Regions from separate parts of the Homo sapiens genome. Here region 2 is linked to region 1. The links are contacts of gene promoters, found by promoter capture Hi-C in human tissues and cell types (Jung and others, 2019). All regions are on one chromosome and are shown on one strand. Each heading gives the region's core, a stretch centred on a gene start or on the middle of the fragment in contact. The rest is flanking DNA. Distances are from core to core; before and after follow the strand shown.

What was found. Contacts are between HindIII fragments. The study calls those that stand out against the background at their distance.
Region 2: a fragment that was not itself captured here is called in contact with the fragment with the promoter of SUPT3H in region 1 in 1 of the 25 tissues and cell types used here (stomach).

The regions. Positions count from the first base shown.
Region 1 is chr6:45,373,477-45,381,395 of GRCh38, reverse strand. It overlaps SUPT3H (SPT3 homolog, SAGA and STAGA complex component), which reads left to right and starts at 3,462. Exons shown (of 11, transcript NM_003599.4): 1 at 3,462-3,628. All of the region lies in intron 2 of RUNX2 (RUNX family transcription factor 2), which reads right to left. RefSeq lists silencers at 3,171-3,220, 3,541-3,820 and an enhancer at 2,987-3,530. The HindIII fragment of the contact is 12,283 bases long and covers 1-7,919 here.
Region 2 is chr6:45,800,158-45,808,076 of GRCh38, reverse strand. No RefSeq gene overlaps it. Among named protein-coding and RNA genes, the nearest start is that of CLIC5, 210 kb to the left of the region's middle. The HindIII fragment of the contact is 6,904 bases long and covers 1-6,788 here.

The DNA.
Region 1 (7,919 bases), core at 2,213-4,712:
CACAAATGCTGAAATTATTCTGCACAACTTTAGTATCCATCCTTTGGCTATTCCCATTTTGAAGGAACATAGAATTTTAGGGCTGTAAGGTTTTAGTTCATTTGGTTCTATCATCTCATTCCACAGATACAAAAACTGGGGTGCAATGATGTTAAGTGACTTGCTCAGGTACTACCGGGCTGAGTAATCTTTTTGGTCAGAACAACTTGCTCTAAACATAAAACAAGATACTTTTGAGAATGCAATTGGAAAACAGTTCTCAACGTCAGAAAACAAATATAGCAACAATTGCAATATACGGTTCTAAACAATATGCAATCTACCCAGTTTATTTCCATGGTGACAACTTAAGCATTAAAAATAGAAGGCAAATATAGCAAAGGATGAAATAATTGATAAATAGAAAATAAAAAGTCCCCACAAACATCCTAGCAAGTAAGAGTTATGAATCTCAAACAACAAAGAATTTCCAAGTCACCTGAACTGTCACTGTAGCATCCACATGAGAAGAAACCACTTCTGGCCGGGTGCGGTGGCTGACACCTGTAATCCCAGCACTTTGGGAGGCCGAGGCAGGCAGATCACAAGGTCAGGAGTTTGAGACCAGCCTGACCAACATGGTGAAACCCCGTCTCTATTAAAAATACAAAAATTACCCGGGCGTGGTGGCACACGCCTGTAATCCCAGCTACTCAGGAGGCTGAGGCAGAAGAATCGCTTGAATTGGGGAAGAGGAAGTTGCAGTGAGCCGAGATCGGGCCACTGCACTCCAGCCTGGGTGACAGAGCGAGACTCTGTCTCAAAAAATAATAATAAAAAGAAACCACTTCCATGGAATCAGAGAGATGGTTCCATATTAGCCATGACTTCTGCTGCTCTTTTGAGAATGTGGGCTTACTACCTAATCATTTTAAGATGCCCATGGGCACTTTTACTTAGATACATGCACTTTCTCTTTGCACTAGTGAGTCTACGTGAATATTACATGCCAGAGGAACGTTAAAGTCTACGCTAACAATGCTTCATTTTTCTTTAACAATTTTGTCCAGGTCATGGAGACATTTTTGTGGAGTGATAAATTAACTTGGTCTCCTGATGTGTTTTCCCCACATGCCTTGGAAAATCACTTGTTTTTCTGAGAGGTGGTAGTCATCAAAGCCTTAACTTCAGCAACAGCTTCGCTGTTTTAGCTTTGTTATAATTAAGATACCCTAGTACCATTGATAGTTTAGGATATTTGATATGAATGTAATGCAAAAATATTTTTGGCCCTTTGTATATAGCAATGGTCTCAAACTATGAGCAAAATTATGGCTAAATCAGATTTTCAAAAATGGATTTTAAGAAATTCCAGGAGGTAGGAACCTGGTTAACTCATGTGACTTTAAAAATCAGATCTCTGCCAACAGCCCAATTCAGTTTCCTAAGAATAAATTTTTAAACTTCCTGTATCAATGCCTTAACTCAGTTTCCCTTCTCCATGTGTCACTCTCATTAACTTTTGTTGTGCGTGATTTTTTTTTTTCTTTTTTTGACGGAGTCTAGTTCTGTTGCCAGGCTGGAGAGCAGCGGCGTGATCTCGGCTCCCTGCAACCTCCGCCTCCCAGGTTCAAGCGATTCTCCTGCCTCAGCCTCCCGAGTAGCTGGGACTACAGGCACGTGCCACCACGCCCGGATACTTTTTTGTATTTTTAGTAGAGACGGGGTTTCATCATGTTGGCCAGGATGGTTTCGATCTCCTGACCTTGTGATCTGCCCGTCTCGGCCTCCCAAAGTGCTGGGATTACAGGCGTGAGCCACCGCGCCTGGCCTGTGTGTGATTTTATGCAGGCTGGACACCAGTATCCTAGAATAAGATGATCTGGATTCTATCCTGATAAACTGGATCAAACAGGTACTCATCTGATGCAGGTGAAACTCCAGTGCAGGAACTTCTATGATAACATTAACTGAACATAATTTTAATTGAAATGATCTACTTTTATGTTTCTTTAGATGTGAACATTAATTTTTCTCTTAATCTTCTGTTAACTAATTTCTTGGTAATGTACTCAAAAGAGCTTTCAACCAGTCTTCCCATGTAAGAAGTTATCACCATACTCACTCTGTTACTTTCCCTTATACTGCACACTTTGCTCAGCAATGAATTGATCCCTGATTTACACATCAAGCTGAGCTCTCACATCCTAAATATATCTATTCTTTTGGAATTTTAGGTATTTGGCAAATATTGAAGCGTTGGGGAGATTAAAGAGAATCAAACACAACACTAGCAGACTCAACTACAATCCACAGAGGAAATAACCAAATAAGTTGCTATTTTAAACAATTTAAGCAAATAGAAGGAAGGGATTTCAGAACTCACAGTATCTATAGGCAAGAAAATAACTGAAGCAGTGATGCTTAAAAAGACTTGGTGAGGGTTAATACTTGAATCCCTATAAAATACAGTATTTTATAGTATTTGACAACACAGGTGTGAAGGTGAGCATGGATAACCAGTTTTCTTCTCTAAGCAGGCAATAAGAATGTTAAATATAAATAAGACTTCATATAATATAAAGAGTGAAAGACTGAAAGCATTGTCTTACGACTACTGTATTATTTAAAGAACTACATCTATATCAATTAAATGTGGCAGGACAGAATGTACAGTACAATACTGGGGGTGCAAGATTTTAAAATGAGGAACAGGCCAAAATCTAAACACAGAATCGTCCAAAAAAAAAAAAAAGCCTTCAAGTAGAAAAAGTTTTCAATAACAAAACATGGTAGTTAAACGCCTGCGTCTAGTAACATGAGTTGGGGAAAAAACATTAATAGCAGATTAATGAAACAGATTCTGTGCGAGGTCAGGGTAGGGAGTGATGGCGCGCGGAAGCGGCGTAAGAGCTGGTTTCGCCGTCCCAGAAAGGGTTCCACATCCACACGCCTGTACTGCGGCCCTGCGGGGAGCGTTCAGACCCCTCCGTTTCCCTTCACCATTGTAAACGCGCAATCCCATTAAGATCCCGTTCACTCCAATTCCTGGAAAGAAGCTTAGAACGGTGAATCTCTTCCTCGGAGTTGAAAATCAACTTCCAGTGCCGGTCACCCAATCCTTCAAAAATCCTAGCCCTCTCGGGCCCAATTCCTAAAGAATTCAAGCCTGCACCCTGTACACCCTGACCGATCTCAGCTCGTCCCCACTCCGCTCCCAGCGTCCCCAGCTCTAAACGCCGCCGCGTGGCTCAGCGCTGCCCAAGCCGGGCCCTGAAGGCCGCGCACAACGCCCCGCCCCCGGCGAGCGTGGCGGAAGTAGCTCGCTCGGGCTGGGAGAGCGCGCGCCACCTGGCCAAGCGCGCATGCGCCCGCACTGCCAGTGCGGGGGGCGTCCGTATCGCTTACTCCTCAGTCTCCGCAACCCCCGCCCCACCGAGAGTCGGGCTCACGCCATCTTGTACCCCCCCCATCGCCCCGTCACACAGCCGAGTCACCTTTTCCCTTTCTACACTCCACACTCTCAGTCCCCCACCCCGCCCCTTTCCAAGCGTGTCCCGGGCCGCAGCAGCAGAAACCGCACCATCTCCACCCCCACATTCTCCTCGCGGGAAGCGCAGCAGTGCCTCCAAGGGTTCTTAAAGCAGAGGTTGTAGGGCTTGCGGGGGGCGGTGCGGGGATTCGGGCGGGGGAGACGTCAGAGAGCCGGGAGGGACGCAGAGCGGAGATCCCAGCGTCGCTGGGCCCCCGCGCCGGCCACGCCCTGGCCCCGGCTCGAGGGCGGCTGCCTGGGTCTTCGTGGTCTACGCCGGAGTGTTGAAGGGAGGGCGGCTGTGGGAGGCGCTGGCCGGGCGCAGCGCCCTGGTTCCGCTGCCGAGCGTGGAGTTGCCTCTCGACTCCTCCCTTTTGGCGGGTGGGCGTGGGGTGAGGGGGGCTGGGCTGTGCTGAGAAGCGGGGTGCGCGGGTCGTCTAGGTAGTGTGGGGGCTGCCGGAGGAATCATTAAAGAGGGAAATTGTTGCTTTATGGCACGGCGAGAGAAGAGTTAGGTAGTTAGTGGGAGTGTAGCATCCAGAAAGAGGAAAAGATCCGCTGTGTTCTCTGTGGGGTGAGCTCACGTCTGTGACCCCTGGGGAAATTATTTAGCTTGTCTTTGCCTTGTTTTGGTCTGTAAAATGGCGATCTTATAGCCTATTTCAGAATTGTGAGGATTATATGAGAAAATACACGTTAAACGCTTAGAACAGCGCCAGGTGCTGCTCAGTACATATTAGCTCTGCTTTTGCTCTCCACGTTTTAGGAGTTCAGAATGACTGTGACCTTATTTTCTCAGAGAATCAGGACACTTGGTCTCACACGTGAGAGTGAAGTTATGAAGACAGTGATATGTAATATTTGACACTCAGACGATCCTGGACGTAGTATTACTGTACACGTGGATAAATTAGCATTTCTCCAAGAGGCTAATAGAAATGTTAAGTTATTTCGGTAGAAAGAAATGTGTGTGTATATATATGTATATACATATGTGTGTATATAAGTATATGTATGTGTATATATGTATGTATGTATTTGGAAGGAGAGGACCTGGGGTCTTAGTATATGTGAAGGGCAGACTCTGGAAGAGGAATTAAATTCGCCCTGCAAAGATTTACTTGAAGGACAAAACTTGGGGAATTTCTGGTGAATGTTTCAAAGAGGCTGAATTTGCCTATGAGAAACAGTTCGTGAGAGTACTTTGCAAGAATGGAATGCTCTTCATTGTGCTATGGAAAGTTTCTTATCTCAGGATATTCGGGACGTTGGAGCGAAGTATGCCTAAGTCTAGGGCTGCACTTTTCACTAGCAGTTTCTGCCTTGATGGAGATGTTCCATAATCTGTGCCTTTAGGCACTAGTGGTAGCCTAGGCACAGTGGCTCTTCAGCACTTGAAATGTGATAAGTGTCACTGAGGAACTTAATTTTTAATTTTATTCATAAATTAATAAATTGATTTACGTTTAAATACCCACATGTGGCTAGTGGTAGCTACTGCATTGGACAGCACAGGGCTACAATTTAGATTTTGAGAGTCCTTCCGAGTCTTGATATGGTTGAGTTTTAAATCAGATAAGCCAGCTCTTTGGAACATTTATTGCCATAGGGAATTGTAATTATATTCAAATAATGCCTTTCATTCAAATACTGCAGTTCAGACCATGGGTCTGTTAGTACTTATTTACATCTTGACAAATTAAAGCAAAACGTTGTCTCCTAGGTTGTACAGCTAATGCCAGATTCAGAGAGCTATGACAGTATTAACTGGAGTTTTCTTTAAACATTATTGTACTATTTTGTGATTGTCGGTTTCTGCTATCTTTTACCACTTTGGTTGGTTTTTCAGTGAGAAGTTTCCAGCTCTTATTCAAGTTTTTTTCTTTTTTAACCTTTTGTGTAATAAAGCGATTTGAAAAATTGTAACTCTTGAGCATTAGGACATTTTAGAACTAGTTTTATGGTTATCCAAATCTTTTGGAGAGATAAGTGAAATTAGGTAATAGATGTTTCACAAAATTACTTTACTTGAAATATGTGCATCTGTTTTTTTTTTTTAAAGCAAGTGTATATAAAGTCAAATTTGAAAATAAAACTAAAAGAACAAATAAAAAACCTTTATAGGTAGCGGTAGCACCCTTAACCTTGGCCTGATGTCTGTAAAATGGTGCCCTTGGGCCAGGCACGTTGGCTCATGCTTGTAATCCCAGCACTTTGGGAGGCTGAGGCCAGAGGATCTCTTGAACCTAGGAGTTCAAGGCTGCAGTGAATCATGGTCAGGCCAGGCTTCCAGCCTGGGCTGCAGAGGGAGACCTTGTCTCTTTAAAAAAAAAAATGATGCTCTTGGTCTTAAGGCTGAAGATAATTGTTAGATCTGGAGCAATAACTTAAAGCTCACGAGTTAAATCAGATGGAGAGAATAGCTCATAATATACAAATCAGAATGGGGTGCTTTTATGGGTGACTATAGTATCTTAATTTTTCTGAGACAGTCGTAGTATAAAGCCTGATTGTTCCAGCACAATTATTTTATTTAATAGAACCCCTTTCACTATCAAAATGTTCGAATTGGGACCACATCATAATGTCACCCTACTGTTAGCCTTGTTGGGACTTGTAATATATAGTTTTAGGATGATTAACCACATTGCAATATCAGAAATACTTTATTATTTTTGAGATGGAGTTTCACTCTTGTTGCCCAGATTGGAGTACAATGGTGCGATCTCAGCTCACTGCAACCTCCCCCTCCTGGGTTCAAGCGATTCTCCTGCCTCAGCCTCCCGAGTAGCTGGGATTACAGGCACATGCCAGCATGCCTGGCTAATTTTTGTATTTTTTGTAGAGACAGAGTTTCACTATGTTGGCCAGGCTGGTTTTGAACTCTTGATCTCAAGTGCTCCACCCGCCTCAGCCTCCCAAAGTTCTGGGATTACAGGTGTGAGCCACCGTGCCCGGCCAGAAATATACTTTAAAACAGTGACAAAATTACTGTTTTTGTGTCTAAATAATAAATAAGATACCTGGAATAAGGCCAGCAAGTGACTTTCCCATTTAAGCCACTGATAATTTTAAAATTTTGCTTTGAATATAAACCTTTAGCAGCTTGAGTTTTGGTTCCCTCTGGAAGAAAATCATCTTTTGGTGGGGGTGACTGCATGGTAGTCTATGTCAGTCAAATCAGGTGATTGAGTATTTGTGTTGAAATAACACTGATTTTATTTTATGGTGAGGTTGAATAGTGAAATCCGTCAGAAATCTGATTATGTATTAGAATGTTAAAGAAGGGTTTTGCTTACAGTTTACTTAATGAAAAATAATTCAGCCATATGCATTATTATATTAAGTTTATACTGAAGTGGGTAAAATATTTTATTGAGGCTCTAACACTTGATTTGAGTTCTCGCTCTGCTGCTTCCTAACCATGTGATTTGGGACAAATTATTTAATCTTCCTAAGAATACTGGGTTCCTCATTTATAAAATGAAGATGGTAATGGCATCTGCTTCTAGGTTCATAAGAGGTTAATTTAAATAACTCATGTGATGGGTTGTGTGCAGTTCAGTAACTGTTAGCTGCTGTAGCCTTAAGTTTATTGGATAATCTAGAAGTGATAATAATGTTCTGAGATGTTATGTGGGTTGGTGAACAGAGCACTAAGACCCAATTCTGTAAACCTAGCTTTTGCCCTTTTCTGGCACATTCTTTTGTCATTTCAGTTAAGGTATTTAACTTATTAATATCAGAGCCTCAATTTCCTTATCAGTAAAATGGAATTAGTACCCATCCTCATCCCGCTTTCTCATAGGACTGTTGGTGGCATCAAATGAGAATTACATTTAAAAATTATCGTCTTACTTTACAAACATTTTTATATTGAATTGGTTTTGTCTCATCTTGTCTACCTTCAGCCTCCACTAAAGAGTGACCTGCAAAAATTGTTGTGTAAATTTTGTGTAACAGCATGGATAGTGTATAATAGGCACTATTACTGAAGACAGTTCTCTTTTACAAATAATATTGTAAGTCACAGGCTGGGTGTGGTGGCTCACACCTGTAATCCCAGCACTTTGGGAGGCTGAGATGGGTGGATCACTTGATGTCAGGAGTTGGAGACCAGACTGGCCAACATGGCGAAACCCCGTCTCTACTAAAATTACAAAAAAATTAGCCGGGCATGGTGGTGCATGCCTGTAGTCCCAGGTACTCAGGAGGCTGAGGCAGGAGAATCGCTTGAACCCGGGAGGCGGAGGTTGCAGTGAGCCGAGATCGTGCACTGCACTCCAGCCTGGGCGACAGAGCAATACTCTGTCTCAAAAACCACACACACACACACACAAATAATATTTTAAGTCACAGTAATGGTGCTTTTTTGATCTGGTCACAATATATTTTCTACGGAAAACAA
Region 2 (7,919 bases), core at 2,087-4,586, 430 kb before region 1:
ATGAGGACAAACTAACCATCTTATTACTGGAAAATCTATACAAAATCCACCAGAGAAGGTTAGGCACTTAAACCAAAGTGGCTTAACAAGAAAGGGGGAAGTAGCCCAAATTCAAAACTCAGAACACTAACCAGGAGAAACATCAGTTTCATTCGCTTGCCTTTGTAAAATGATCCTCCTTGCTAACCTGAGGTTGACTGTATGCTTAAGGGTTAAATGTATTACCAGCTGGCAAATGACCTTCTTGAGAGAGAAAGGGGAAGCAAGAGAGGTCAATGCCTCAGAAATAACTAGTTTAATAAAAATAATCTCCCCCTCACATTTCTGACACCACCGGGCAGTCACACCATCCTGCTTCAGGTCACCAGACGCAGCTCCGTGAAGTCAGAGGAAATTATAGAAATCCATCATGGCTGAGTTTTCTGACCTGGTTATTACTTGCTGCTTTTTATCTTCCAAACAGACCCTAAATTTAATTGCCTTGTTGTAATGGATTAACCTCTGAGGTCCACAGTAGCATTTATATTGTGTTCAAAGGGAAGGTTGAGGGTTCTGAGCCAGTGTGGGGAGTGTGCTTTTATCAGACCAAAGCTGTCCTTGCTCAGTTCTGAGTAACTCCAGTAAACACTTGTCTGTGAAGGTCACATGAATGTCTAGGCAAAGAGAAACAAAAAGAGACTCTCATTTGATCTGAAGGAATCAATGCACCCTCTCCAAGCTAATTTCAATATGGAGGAGAAGCAAGCAAAGGCCACAGGGACTGTGACTCTGCAAATAAGTACTAAAGGCACCAGTTTTAGAGAAGGGAGAGATGTGGGTCTTAGTCTTTCCTGTGTCATATATCTCTCTACTTCTAGATCATTCTCATCAGAAAACAGCCCCTCCTGTCTCCCATCTACTAAAAGGACCTCTTGACTCATATTCCCATTTCTTTGTTATTCCTTAAAATAAGTTCTTTAAAAATATTAGCTATGCAGGCAATCTGTCACTTCCCTTCACTCTACCTACACTTCTCTTGTCAGAGTCATCCACAACCTTTCATGAAGCCAGATTCCATAGACACATTTTTTTTAATCCGTCTCCATCACCTTTGTAGTAGCATTTGACACAAGACTGATCCCTTCTTCTTGAAACATGATTTCCTCCTAGATTTGGTGTGAAACCCATCCTCTCCTTGTTTTACTTTTCCTTTCTGGCCATTCCTTCCCTAGTTCCATTCCTCTTACTCACCTACCAATCATGTCAGTGTTCTCTCCGGGGCCTTCTTCTTGTTTCTCTCTATCCTCCTTCCCTAGACATTCTCATCTGTTCCTATGGCTCTCAATGCCATCTATAAACTGATGACTCTAAAACATGCATCTCTAGTTTCTAACTTTGTGTTTGAACTTGAGACTAGCATATTCAGTTACTTGTCTGGCATCACTGATGTATCCCAGAGAGATCACAAACATATGCTCAAATCTATTTCTTCAAGTATTCGTCATCCCAGTACATGGCATCACCATCCACCCAGTTGCTCAAGCCAGACCCAACTGAGAGTCACCCTTGAGCCTACCCTTCTCTTACCACCAATCTACTGCCAGTATTGTTGATTCTATCTCCAAAGTACATTTCAAACAAATCTACTTCTCTGCATCTCTATTGACATCATCTAGCTCAAGCTGACAACTTCCTCTCTCAAACCCACAGCCAGTGACCCCGAGTGCAGGCTCACACAGCCTCTGTCAACTCCACCTTACTTGTCTGTTTTCTGTTCCTCAAGTACACCAAGTTCATTCCCACCCCAGGACCTTTGCACTTGCAATTCTCTCTGCTCTGTCTTCTGATCTTCTCATGCCTGGTTCCTTCCTGTCACTCTGATAGTAGCTTAAGTATCACCTGTTTTGAGATCTTCCTTGCCTACTCAATCTAAAAAATTATGAGAGACTTAAGTTCAAATTCTAGCTCCCTACTTTCTAACAGTAAGGAAAAAATAAAGAGTGAGCATAGGAAGCAGGAGAGTGAACAACATGTAACACTAACTGATATGGTTTGGCTCTGTGTCCCCACCCAAATCTCATCTCATAGCTCCCATAATTCCCGCATGTTGTGGAAGAGACTCGGTGGGAGATGATTGAATCATGGGGGGCAGGTCTTTCCCATACTGTTCTCATGATAGTGAATTGGTCTCAAGAGGTTTTTAAAACAGGAGTTTCTCTACGGAAGCTCTCTCTTTGCCTGCTGCCATCCATGTAAGACATGACTTGCTCCTCCTTTCCTTCCACCATGATTGTGAAGCCTCCCTAGCCATGTGGAACTGTAAGTCCAATTAAACCTCTTTCTTTTGTAAATTGCCTAGTCTCAGGTATGTCTTTATCAGCAGTGTGAAAACAGACTAATACATGAACCATGATCTTGGGTTCAAGATCTGGCTCTGACACTACCTGCCTTATGAGTCTTTCCACTATATTGTAGTAGGTAGAAGGAGGCTAGGTAAGATGGATGGGCAACGAGCAAGAGAGAGTTTATGGTGGGATGGCTGTTAGACTTTCTGGCCAATGTGTGAAGGAGGCTTCTGCCAAACAGAAATGACCACAGACAGCAATTATTGGCTGAAAGGGAGCTTTAATAAAATTGATGCATCTTATATATCTCCAAAACAAGCAATAAACTTCGCTCAGTAGGAATATGAGGGATTTTAACTTATGGTCCTTTCCTTTGAGCCCTAAAAATACCATGACAATTAAGAATACATAGATCAAATAATAATCATAACTTGCATTCACTAATGCTCTTATGCTAGCTGGACACCCTACTCTCAATATCCTGTTCAATCCTTCCACAACCCCTTGAGGTAGGTTTTCTGTTACTATTCCCACTTTATAGAATAGAAAACTGAATATTACACTAAAGCTCACACAGGTAGAAAGCTGAGATTTGAACCCAGGTGTGTCTCCTCCCTGGGGCTATAATATTTCCTGTAAAAAAGACATCTTGGACAAGATCTGATTGGGTTCTAACTCAGGAAGTTAAGCAAAGTTCATTATTTTGGGAGAAGTCCTCTTAGAGGAGCTGGAAATCATGTTCAGTCTTAGTGTATGTGTTGGAATAGGAAAGACAAAATCAAAAGAAGAGGGCATGGAGCAGTTATTCCTCTACTGAGTGCACAGCCTATGGACTTGAATAGTAGGAGACACATTTGGAGAGAATAGGAGGCTGCAGTGGCCACAACACAGTGTGCATATCCTGCCTTCCCTCCTTCCTTCATTCAATCATTCATTCCACAAATGTTCATACAATACCTCCTGTGTAGCACAGTCCTGGCAGCTTGGGGAATATGAGGGACAACCAAGGAGACATAGTCCCTGCCCACACATGGCTAGAGCCAAGTGGAAGAAACAGATACTAACAAATAAGCACAGATAAATGCCTTGTTTCTTTGATCTAAGACATTATCAATTGTAAGAAATACAACTTCATCACAGGCACACATAGTTTGTAAGATGCAGCCCAGTTTGGAAGCTTTAAACTATTGGGGAAGAGATGTAGATATAGCATATAATTGCATAATTGTGAGAAGTGCTATGAAGAAAAAGTACAAAGCACTATAGGAGACACTAATGGGGTGTGGTAAGGATTAATTTAGGCTGCAGGAATCATAGAATCCCTCTTGAAGGAAGTGAAGGATGCTGGAAGAGTAAGTTAGGTGAAGAAAGGGGCTATCATATGTGCAATCCCTCAGGCAGGACTCATACTATAGCTGCAAGGACATGAAGGGCCAATGTGGCTCCAGGAGGGCCAGTGTGTGTGTGTGAGTGGGGGCAATGCCACCAGAGTGTAGCCGTGGCCAACAGGTTCAACATGTGGGCTCTTGCATGTTACATTAAAGACTCTGGGTTTTATTCTAAGTCCATGGAGAACCATCAGGGGTTTTTAAGCAGGAGAGTAACATGGTCCAATTCTTGTTTTTAAAGGTCAGTCTGGCTACAATATGAAGAGCAGATTGTGGGAGCAATAGCAAGGAGATTAGTTAAGAGACACTAGCAGTAGTCCAGGAAGAAAGGATGGACCCTTCCTCAGGGTGTGGAGAGAAGCTGATGGATTTGAGACACATTTTGGAGGTGTAATTGAGAATACTTGGTGATATTTGTATACTGAAGGAGGTGTAAGAATTAAGGATAAACTGTCAGGTTTCTGACATGAGAACTTGAGTGAATGGGGATAACCTTTCCTGAGATGAAAGAGAACAAACTTTGGAGGAGAAGCCTACAACTTCTTTTTTGGATGTAAGTTTGGGATGTTTCAGAGAGTCCTAAATTAAGAGTCAATTTGGCACTTAGATGTGAGTCAATTCGGCACTTAGATGTGAGTGTGGAGTGCAGAAGAGAGGTCTGGGTATTTCCATGTCTGCAGTTGGTGTCTTTAGATTGGGAGTTTTCGGCATAAATGATGTTTAAACTCATAAGATTAGAAGAGGTTGTCTAAGGAAAGAATATATTGTGAGAAAAAGACCAGGGTGAAAGCCTAAGGTGCCCCAGCATTTAGAGGTGGTGTGAAAGATGTAAGTCCAACAAAAAGGATGAGCAGAAATGGCCAGAGAGAGCAGGGGAGCCAGGCACCCAAGGTGAAGGCCAAGAGAAGAGACTTTTAAGAAGCAGGGAGTGATCGATTATGTCAAACACTGCAGAGATGGTCAGGAAAGATGTACCCTTTGGATTTTGCACTGGAGAGACAATGTATCACTTTAGCAATAGCAGGTTTTGGCTTGCGGTGAGGAGAATACAGACTGAGATGGGCTAATGAGGAAGCGGAGGCAGACTGTGTAGGCAGTGCTTTCAGGAAGCTTGGCTAATGACGGTATATGGGAGAGGGTGGAAACTAGTGAGGGTGATGAGGTCAAGGGAGGATTTAGTTTGCTTTTGTTTGGAGAGCCATTTGCCCAAGTGGAAAGCTAACACAATGATCCACACAACAGTGATGGGTTGAAGATATGGGAAAGAAATGACAATATTAGAAGAGTAATATTCCTGAGCCCCCAGGGAATGTTGCATCTAGAGCACAATGCAAGCCATATATGTAATTTTAATTATCTAGGTAAATATGTTAGCAAAAGTAAAAACAAAGAAGTGAAATTAATTTCGATAACATATTATGCCCCACACAAAATATTCAAAATATTACCCTTTCAGCATGTAATCAATGTAAGAAATTATGAATGAGATATTTTACATTCATTTTTATCCTATTTTACACTTATAGCATATTTCCACTCAGACTGGATACATTTCAAGTGCGAATAGTCACATGTGGCCGCTGGCTACCATATTGGACAGCCCAGGTCCAGAGCACAGGTAGAGGCATTGACCTCTGATGGAGTAAACAACATTTTCTCCCTTGAAAGATAGAAAGGAAAAGCTGCAGGAAGGTTTGAAGATTTGGTGGTAGGTGAATGAAGGATATTGGGAGGAGTTTTCAAGACCATTTAGTACAACTACCAGGACATTACTTAATCTTTCCATCAATATACTTCTGCTCCTTTGAAATTCCTTTACTTCCATAATACATTGAGAAACCATTGGGCTTCTTGAGTGACAGAAGGTAGGCATATTTTATGCTGGAAAGCCTCCCATAAAATCTTTCAAAAATCCCTTTTTAAGCACCATAAGGGCTATTTTTATACATTGTCTTCTCATAACTTTGGAGAGACAAATCATCCTTCAGTGGCAAAGCAAGTGTAAGTTCTCGGTCCTAAGCCCAGTCTTGCCATTAACACCTCACTGTGCTGGGAAGTTCCCTTCATAGGGATGGATGGTCTGAGCAACAAGCATAAGAAAGATAAAGAGACCCTGCTAGGTTCTAAACGGCCACATGCATCATCAATAATGATCAGAACAACAATGACAATGATACTCACAGGCCCGGCCACATCCTCCTGGTGCTGGCAGTTGATGCCCCCTCAAATCTACGTTTCACTCATCGAAGGATCAGCAAAACCCCAAGTGTGAGTCTGCCTAGGCCTTTTCCTCCTCTCCCTTCAAACCCACATGTATCTTGAGGTAAATCTAATCCACATGTTTCTGATTCATTTACACTTAACTCATCAAAATGTTGTTTTCTAACAGCTATTTGATGGCCAAAAACTCTTTCTTAAAGCTCCTTTCTTACAAATAGGATGTTGTGGTTTGCCAAGAGAAAAAAAATAAAGCTGGGCCCCAAAAGGTTTGAATGTGACTCAAAACTAAGAAATCATGAAGTTTGGACCAAATTTGGCCAGAAGCTTTCTCATTATTCCTCATAACCTTTCTCCCCCAGGTGATTTTTCAACTCTCAGTTCAGTGATAGACAAAGTGACAATGCTTAGGCCAGGCAGGGTGCTGGTCCAGGATTGCATTTGACGCTGGTTGAACGAGAAAATACGATGCATTCGCAAGGGACATTTTTCAGTCAATTCACTTCTCCTCCCTTGAAATTCCCTTTACCTCTGTGGTTTACAGTGGGCCTCTTGTCCACTAAATGGCAGCTCCTTTACTCACCCCAGGGCGCTTTCTGCACACATAAACTGCTCCCCTCGGGTGGGGCTATTCATGGTACTTGGAACCATGCTTCTTTCTTCATTTCCTCTTCTCAATGAAAGCTCTGTGTCAAAGGTTTCAGGAAAACAAAAATCCCAGAGCATGAAGAATTTCATGGCCCTGCAAAGAAACAGAAAATACATTAGGTCAGATGTTAGGCTGATAAACTCATCAACTCCCTTTAACTTAAGACTTTAATTAAAATGACCCCTGTAAGGGGGATTAAAAATAAACACTCATTTATGGTTTCTCTCTGAAATCCTGTAAAATCGACATGAAAACACTACTTCTGGTTTATTGTAGCTTCCTAAGACACCCTGGCCAGACGGATTTTATTCCTGCCATTTGGAATTAAGACAAATCTTCAGCAGCCCTCACAGGCATAGATACTCTGATCTTCCTCCATGTTTGTTTCTCTTTGGGCAGCTTCCAGACACGGGCCATTGGACGCATGTTACGCTAGCAAATGAGTTTATGAGGTCTCTCTGCTGTAGGAGCAAACTGTGTAGTCTGGCAGTAGTAACTAGGACACAATAAATGGCCAAAAAGTATGTGTTGAATTAATCTGTATCAACAAATCTCAGTGGGTCTATGGATCTAGAGGAATAGAGAAGAACCATATTCATAGTTTGCAAAGCAAGAGAAGAAATGAAAAGTGTGGTGGAATGAGGAGAAATGCAGAGAGAAGGTACCTAGTAAAGTCATTTTGCAAACAACTCCAACCATTGCCTCTCTTTCCAGCAAGCAATGAATGACAGTTTCTAGAAAGCTTTACCAAGGTGACAATGGATAAGACAGGATAAGACAGATTTTGTGACATATACCAATCTAGAGCTATTTTGTTATATCTTCCTGGAGCAATGGCAGAAGCCCACAGTTTGGTGTATCTGAAATTTCCACTGGGAAGACAATAGGATAATGGAAGAAATAAGGCACAATCTTTGGACTGGGAAGGAAGATTTTCCTGTTTCTCTCAGGCCAGTAGTTCACTGGGTCCAGACTCTAAGATACAGATACCCTGGATCAATTCCAGCAGTGAGGATGAGCTGTCCCTGGGAAGGTGGCAGGAGCCAGCAGCAACGGCAATGTAGAGAGATGGCCAGTTTCTGGGCAGCCAGGATGTAGGGCAGCAGCTGTGATGCCCTACAAACTCAAGCAGTGAGGCCCAGTACCAGTACCAGTACCAATCATCTGGTGTCCCAGTGCCAGTAGGAAGGTCAAGAGCAATCAGCCCTGCCTGTAAACTTGAGGTGAGCAGCACCTCACCCTGAGGCTGGAGTCAAGTCATCACCAGCCAATACCCACATGAGACAGCAGAGAGGCAATATCAGATTATTCCACGCTCAGCCAGAAGCAAGATCAGAAGAT